3 separate regions of the Homo sapiens genome follow, and regions 2 and 3 are each linked to region 1. Evidence: promoter capture Hi-C in 16 types of primary human blood cells and fetal thymus (Javierre and others, 2016). All regions are on one chromosome and are shown on one strand. The core of a region is centred on a gene start or on the middle of the fragment in contact, and the rest is flanking DNA. Distances in the headings are between cores, read along the strand shown. Region 1 holds the start of PHF20 (PHD finger protein 20). Region 2 overlaps CEP250 (centrosomal protein 250). Region 3 overlaps CEP250 (centrosomal protein 250).

Region 1 (2,523 bases), core at 17-2,516:
GACTCTATCTCAAAAAAAAAAAAAAAAAGTGGCCAAGTACGGTGTTAATTCCAGCACTCTGGGAGGCTGAGGTGGGTGGACTGCTTGAGCCCAGGAATTCAAGACCAGCCTGGGCAACATCGTGAAACTGCGTCTCTACAAAAAAATGCAAAAATTAGCCAGGTGCACACCTGTGGTTCCAGCTATCTGGGAGACTGAGGTGGGAGAATTGCTTGGGCCTAGGAGGTGGAGGTTATGAGGAGCCGAGACTGCGCCACTGCACTCCAGCCTGGGTGACACAGTGAGACCGTGTCTCAAAAAAAAAAAAAAATTAGCTAGGCATGGTGGCATGGGCCTGCAGTCCCAGCTACTCAGAAGGTTGAGCTGGGACCACAGGTGCGCACGTTCACGCCTGGCTAATTGTTGTATTTCTTGGAGAGACGGGGGTCTAGCTATGTTGCCCAGGCTGGTCTCGAACTCCTGAGCTCAAGTGATCTACCCACCTCAGCCTCTCATAGTGTTGGGATTACAGGCGTGAGCCACTGCTCCTGGTCTCATATTCTTTTGGGGTGGCTTCAACTCCGACCTTCGTCCCCAGAGAAAATACAGCTCCTTATCCTTAGCAGCAATTGGAAACCTTTCTAGGAGTTAATGATAAAGTGGGGGAGAAATGAGTGCAAAGGCTCTGAGATGAGAAGAACCTGGATTGTTAGCGGAGTTGAAGGACACTGAGAATGTGGGGGAGCTGGATTCGTGAGGATAAGAAAGCAGCAGGTCAGGTCCAGACTTTGAAGAGCCTGGTAGATAGTCTAGGTGAAGAGTTAGATCTTAATCCGGAGTAGGGAGGGAAACGAGCTTTGAGCAGGGGATGGCGTTTTGAAAAGACCTCTCTGCCGGTGTACGAAGAATGGATTAGAACGGCGAAGAGTAATAGGGTGGAAACCATCTTCATCTTGGAGAGAGATGGTGGTCGCTTCGATGGAGAAATGGGAAGCTTTGAGACGCATTTAGGTGGCAAAATTAACGGGTGATGGATAGCGTCCATTCCCCGGCTTCGGTGATCTCAGTGATTACGAGTGAGTGGGGACTTCGTGTTCCTGCTAGGGCGCGGGCCTGTTTCCCGCGCGTCAGGGTAGTGGGCGTGGCCTGCGCAGGCCGTTGCCACAGTGATCGGGCAGACGGGGCAGGGGGCGGGGCAGCTGGGACCTTACGTCACTCGGTGGTGGCGATGATGCGTGTGTGTGGGGGGCGGGGCATACGCTGGGCGCGTCCCGGGGGTCACGTGGTGCAGAGCACGCAGAGTCCTTCTGTCGGTTGGTCCTGGAGCGGCGCAGCCGGAGTGGGGCCGTGAGGTGAGCTCGCGGCCAGGCGAAGCCGGCCGGCCGGGCCGGGTTGGGCCGGGCCCGCGCTGCGCGCGCGCCGTGCGGGCGGGGACGGCGACGGACGCCACCGCTGCTTCGGTCCCCTGCCCGGCCCCGCTCCCCGCCTGGCCCCGCTCGCCCAGCCTGGAGGGAGGCCCTGGGACTGCTGCTGAGAGCGTGGCGGGCGTGCGAGCGGTGCCCAATCCCCGGGGCTACCCGCAAGAGTGGCGGCGGCTGCCGCCAATCAGCGCCGCCCGAGGGGGCTGGGCCGTGGGGTGCGGGCCCGGGGCGCGGAGCGGGCCGTGTTGGGGGTGCGGGTAAGCCCTAGGGCCCGAGCCTGAGCTGTGTGGGCACCTAGAGCCTCATCAGCAGCCTCTGCTATTGCCTTGCGCTTTGGGAATATGTTTTTTAAAATTGGCTTTTTTTATCCTATTCTGGGGAGCACATTCCTTTCTCAAGACCCCAAATATGGGAGTGTCCCTTTTCTCTATAGTTTTGAAAACTGGGCGGCACACCCCCTTTCTTAAGCTCTAGCTCTGGAATTTTATCTAAATTTCTAAAAGCCCTCCCCCCCCCAAATTTAGGGCGTACCCTCTTCCGTCAGCCCCCAAAGTGGGAGCACATTCCTTTTTTCGGGCCTCCAATTTGATTCTGCATTTCCGTTCCAATTTAGAGGTTCACCCTGTTATCGGGTCCTCAGATCTGGGGTCCATTAGCTAAAGTTTTGGGATACTTTCTTGTATCCCCTCTACTCCAAGGAAGAATTCCCCTTTTCCAGGTCCCAAATCTGACAGCATGCCTTCTGGAATTTCTTACATTTAGGGGCCACTTCCTTTCCTCAGCCCTTCAAACCTGAGGTTGGGCCGAAAACAATGTCCAAATTTTGAAGTTTATGGGTACTTATTTCCAGTTTCACAAATAAGGGAATTCACTGCCTTCTCCCGAGACTGTATTATTGGGGTTACACACTTTTCACGTGTTCCCCAAATCAAACTACCTTATTTCCTGAAGGAGACTCATTTTCATATCTGGGAGTATATTTGTTTCTTGTGCCCCCCAAATGTACGAGGTGAACCCCTTTTAGTTATACAACTCTCAGAGTGCAGCCACTTTCCAGATGCTTCTTAAATTTGGGGGGCACACCTTTTTGTGAGTCCTCTCATTTCCAGGTGGCGAGTGGTCT
Region 2 (2,523 bases), core at 7-2,506, 300 kb before region 1:
TTAATTTTTTTGTAGAGACGGGGTCTCACTATGTTTCCCAGGCCGGTCTGGAACTCCTGAGCTCAAGCAGTCTTTCCACCTTGGCCTCCCAAAGTTCTAGGATTACCGGTTGAGCCACCGTGGCTGGCCAGTGAATGTTTGTTGAGTGATGCAATACTTAAACAAATGACCATACAGTGTGTTAAGGTTCTTAGAGATGGTATAGAATAAAATTATTAAGACTTTTGCTGAGTGAGGAGGATCACTTGAGCCCAGGAGTTTGAGACCAGCCTGGACAACATAGTGAGACCTTGTCTCTACTAAAAGTAAAAATAAAAAAAGAATAGCCATGTGGTGGCATGCACCTATAATTCTAGCTACTTGGGAAGCTGAGGCAGGAGGATTGCTTGAGAGTGAGCTATGATTGCACCACTGTATTCCAGCCTGGGCAACAGAGCAAGACCCTGTCTCAAAAAAAAAATTGGAAAAAAATTTAAACTTTTAGATAGCATTCATTCAAGAAATATTTATTTAGCCACTCACATAATAGCAAGCAGTAAGCTCTAAGATATAGTGTTAAGTGTTTGGTGATTTTGCTGGACTTTGAGATTAATATCAAGAAGGTTGAACATAATCTTCCCCAAATTGCCCTTCCTTTTTCCCTATCAGAGTCAGAACCTCGGGCTGGAGGGACCTTGGGACTATCCCAAGTGCAATTCTGATGTTCTTATTGGCTTCAGGGTGCTTGACTTCAAGATCAAGCGAGGCCTGGAAGGGCCTGGGCCAGGGCTTTCCTTCAGCTCTTGGGCCCCCAAACACGTGTTCCAGCCTTGAGATGTGGTAAATCCCTGCATGTGTCTGAGTGGTTTTTTGCTTCCCCACTTCAAGGCTATAGCATCATGTGGTATTCAGGGAGTGCAGACGGGCTGGGGGTGCCTAAGGGATTTGGGGGAGGCTGCAGTTGGGAGTGGTTGGGGTTGGGGCTGGGGCTGGGGTGTGCTGCATCGTAGCTCTGTCCACATCCATGGGCTGTTCTGGTGACAGTGCTATGCTCTTCTCTTTAGGGTGACCGAGCTCTCTGCTCTGTTGACCCAGTCTCAGAAGCAAAATGAAGATTATGAAAAGATGATAAAGGCTCTGAGAGAGACAGTGGAGATCCTGGTACATGATCCTTTGCTCTGGAAAGGAGTTGGGCGTGGGCTTGTAGGTTCCTTGTGCTTTATGGACAGATAGTGCAGGATACCAGTTACATATTCCATGATGAAATCCTCTAAAGCTAAAAAATAAATTTTGGCTGAATCTGAAAATTAATTAACTCATTCATTTATTCATTGAATAAATACTATTGACTGTCTACTATCCCTACTGTATTCCTGGGGAAATTGCAATGGCATATGTATGCAGTGTGTCCTTACCAGAGAATTGGCACATACATTCAGAGACACATTGGCAAATTAGTGAGTTACCAGGAAGCGGATATGTGGAGAGATTTAAAATCTAGTCACATGGGAAACAACTGAGGAGTATGGCAATGTTTAGCCGGGAGAAGAAAGAGCTTGAGGCCCTGTGAAGGCCCTTGAAGACATGATAGCTGCCTTCACATATCTGAAGGACTGACGCTGGGAAAAGAGAGTTTATGAAGGGCCGGGCGCGGTGGCTCACGCCTGTAATCCCAGCACTATGGGAAGCTGAGGCAGGCAGATCACCTGAGGTCGGGAGTTTGAGACCGGCCTGACCAACATGCAGAAACCCCGTCTCTACTAAAAAAATAAAAAAAATTAGCCGGTCGTGGTGGCACATGCCTATAAACCCAGCTGCTCGGGAGGCTGAGGCAGGAGAATCACTTGAACCTGGGAGGTGGAGGTTGTGGTGAGCCGAGGTTATGCCATTGCACTACAGCCTGGGCAACAAGAGTGAAACTCCGTCTCAAAAAAGAGAAAAGAGAGTTTACATATTTAATGTTTTCCAGGGCAAAACCAATGTCAATAGCTAGAAGTTAATAGGGGAATAGATTCTGGCTCACAGCTAGAGCTGTTAAGTAGTTGAACAGCCTGTCTTGTGAAGGAGTAAGGTTTTGGTCATTGGCTTAACATCTGCCAGGGATGTTATCAGAGGGCTTCTCTAAGGTTGGATGTTAGAACCCTCTGGCTTAATACCATGTTTCATCTCTATAAGTTTTCAGATCTCTGATTTTAGGTAGCTCCTGAACCCCTATTCATATGTACACCCCTAGTCTTCTCATCCAAGCTGAGATCAACAGGAATTGTAGCTTTCTGATTCCCTCTTTTTTTTTCAGGAACTTGCCAATTCAGAATATCCATGGGGCTCAGATAATGTAAATAAATGAAATGGGTTCAGTTGTAAGAATTCTGGTTTTCCAGTGCTGTTTGTTGTATTTAGTTTTCAGTACTGCAGGGGACACTTGAGCTCAGTATTAAGGAAGCCATGAGGAGCAATAGGGATTGTGGGACCCTCAATAATAAATGTCTCATCTAGATGAGGCATCTACCATTCAACTTCAGTAAATCGTTTCCATGTAGGAAT
Region 3 (2,523 bases), core at 8-2,507, 280 kb before region 1:
CATGTAGCCATGTGGAGAGGACATGGTTCCTGTCTTCAAAGCTTGAACTTCATTTATTTAGTAAATATTTCGTGAACGCCTGTTATGCACCAGGCACCATGCTTGGGGATACAGTGATAAACAAGACTGTATGGTCCCTGCCCCAGTAGAATTTATAGTTTTGTGGGGAAGACATTAATCAAATAATAACTCAAATTATTACGTTATGACACATGGAGGAAACAGGGTGAGAGAGAGAAGAGACTTTAGAACCATTGTTAGGGAAGGCCTTTCTCAGGAAGTTGCATTTAAACTGAGCACTCAGCATGAAGTGGAGCTACCCATGTAAAAGGGTGAGGGGGAGTTCTATTCCGTAAGAGGAGAAATAATATGCAAAGGCCGTGAGGCAGATAAAAGTTTACAGTGTTAACTGAAAGAGTGGTTGGAGCCTGATTGGATTGTAATTGGAGCCTGGTGAATGAGGAGAGTGGCATGAGCTGGGCAGGTCCACAGCATTCAAGATTTGGTAGGCCACAGCAAGGAGTTCGTAGTTTGAGTTTCATAGGAAACCTCTGGAGAATTTTAAGCAGGGAAATTGATACAATCCAACTTATGATGTATTTGAAGGGATTGTAATGCCATGAGACATCAGGAGTGAAAGAAGACCATTCAGAGTGAAGAGCAGCTTGTATTCTTAGTGCTGTGGGAATTTGAGAAGGGGATGGGCTGGGTGCTGTGTCCCACGACTGTAATCCCAGCACTTTGGGAGGCTGAGGTGGGCAGATCACTTGAGGTCAGGAATTCAAGACCAGCCTGGCCAACATGTCTACTAAAAATACAAAAAAAAATTAGCTGGGCATGGTGGTGGGTGCCTGTAATGCCAGCTACTTGGAAGGCTGAGGCAGGAGAATTGCTTGAACCAGGAGGTGGAGGTTGCAGTGAGCTGAGATCACACCACTGCACTCCAGCCTCGGTGACAGAACGAGACTCCATCTCAAAAAAAGCAAAAAACAACAAAAAAAAGACACAGTTTGAGAAGGGACACATTATTTTGGTGGTGAATCTAGAGGCAGGAAGACAAGTTAGGCTGGTACAGTTGTCCTGATGAGAGATCCTAAAGCTAAACCAAGGTAGGGTAGTGGGGAAGAGGAGGAGAGAAGAGAAGAGGTTTAAAGGATGTTAAGGGAGTTAGAATCAATTGTATATAATTATAGATTGGATGTAGGTAGGTTGAAGGGAGAACTCTGGAGTAGTCAAGGTTCTACGTTAGGACACTGTGTGGATGGAAGTGCCATTCACTGAGCTAGGGAACATAGTAGGAGATGATTGGGTGGACAGGGGAGGAGAGGAAAGGGATGGGGAAGATTTGGACATGTTGAACGTGAGGTACTAATATAAGGTATGTGTGAAATTTGCCAGAGAAGAATAAGGTTGATAGCTAGGCATGGTGGCGCATGCCTGCAATCCCAGCTACTCTGGAGGCTGAGGCACGAGAATCATTTGAACCCGGGAGGCAGAGGCTGCAGTGAGCCGAGATCGTGCCACTGTACCCCAGCCTGGGTAACAGAGCAAGACTCTGTCTCAATAAAAAAAAAACACAAAAAAACCTGTGAGGTTGAAATGGGGCATCATCTGCAGGAAGTACCTAGGAGCACTTATTATAGTAAGTGCTCAATAAATGATAGCTTTTATTGTTACATCATAATCATTATCATTACTATTTCTATTTTGATTATTAATGCTATGTTTAGAATACTCAGATGAGAAGGTAATTTTTCATTCCCTAAGAGAATGGCCCAGCACTCTGACCCCTCTCTTTTTAGCCTGACTCTCTCACTGATGGAAAAGGAACAGAGACTCCTTGTTTTACAAGAAGCTGACTCTATTCGACAACAAGAGCTGAGTGCCCTGCGCCAGGACATGCAGGAGGCCCAGGGAGAACAGAAAGAGCTCAGTGCTCAGGTACTTCCCACTCTGGTTATGAGCTCTGCATCCCTGGCAGAAGCCTGATTCTGAAGCGGTGGATTGATTGCTCTGAGTCCTCTCATGGAGAGGACCCATCTATTTTTCCTGATTACAGGATAGGCTGGTGCCTCAACACCCCTACAGGAGGGGGAAGCCAGGACTAGACAAGGCGGGGGCTTGGGAATCTGACCCAGAGATGGACATGGCTCCTGTGGGAAACCTGACAGCCCACAGCAAAGTGCACACGGGTGTAGCCCATGCAGGCCTGGTTCCAGCACACCGGCTTCAAAGTATGCTGGGTCTGGTTGGCAAGATGTAGCAGGGAGAATGAGCAACCAGAAATACTCCAGATCAGGCAGGCAGCAGCAAGACTTCCAGGGACTCAGTCTGCCCCCATCAGAACCCCAGATATTGTATACAGAGAAAAGATGGAACTAGGAGGGAAGGAATGGGGTGTAAGAGCCAGATGGTGGCTTGCAGGGGTTAAGGGCACACAGGTTTGGCTGTTCAATGGTCTTGAGTTTGAATGTAAGCTTTCTAATTGTGTGAACGTCAGCTTCTTCATCCATAAAACAAGGG

Evidence for each region. Contacts are between HindIII fragments. The CHiCAGO score rates a contact against its expected background, and 5 or more counts as called.
Region 2: a contact is called between a fragment that was not itself captured here and the fragment with the promoter of PHF20 in region 1, in 1 of 17 cell types (total B cells). The highest score is 5.7, in total B cells.
Region 3: a contact is called between a fragment that was not itself captured here and the fragment with the promoter of PHF20 in region 1, in 3 of 17 cell types (naive B cells, naive CD4 T cells and naive CD8 T cells). The highest score is 7.2, in naive B cells.

The regions. Positions count from the first base shown.
Region 1 is chr20:35,770,749-35,773,271 of GRCh38, forward strand. It overlaps PHF20 (PHD finger protein 20), which reads left to right and starts at 1,267. Exons shown (of 18, transcript NM_016436.5): 1 at 1,267-1,331. RefSeq lists a silencer at 1,335-1,714. The HindIII fragment of the contact is 4,645 bases long and covers 972-2,523 here.
Region 2 is chr20:35,468,847-35,471,369 of GRCh38, forward strand. It overlaps CEP250 (centrosomal protein 250), which reads left to right. Exons shown (of 35, transcript NM_007186.6): 10 at 1,044-1,140. Among named protein-coding and RNA genes, the nearest start is that of CEP250, 15 kb to the left of the region's middle. The HindIII fragment of the contact is 7,220 bases long and covers 1-2,523 here.
Region 3 is chr20:35,494,775-35,497,297 of GRCh38, forward strand. It overlaps CEP250 (centrosomal protein 250), which reads left to right. Exons shown (of 35, transcript NM_007186.6): 25 at 1,803-1,941. Among named protein-coding and RNA genes, the nearest start is that of CEP250-AS1, 5.1 kb to the left of the region's middle. The HindIII fragment of the contact is 2,436 bases long and covers 40-2,475 here.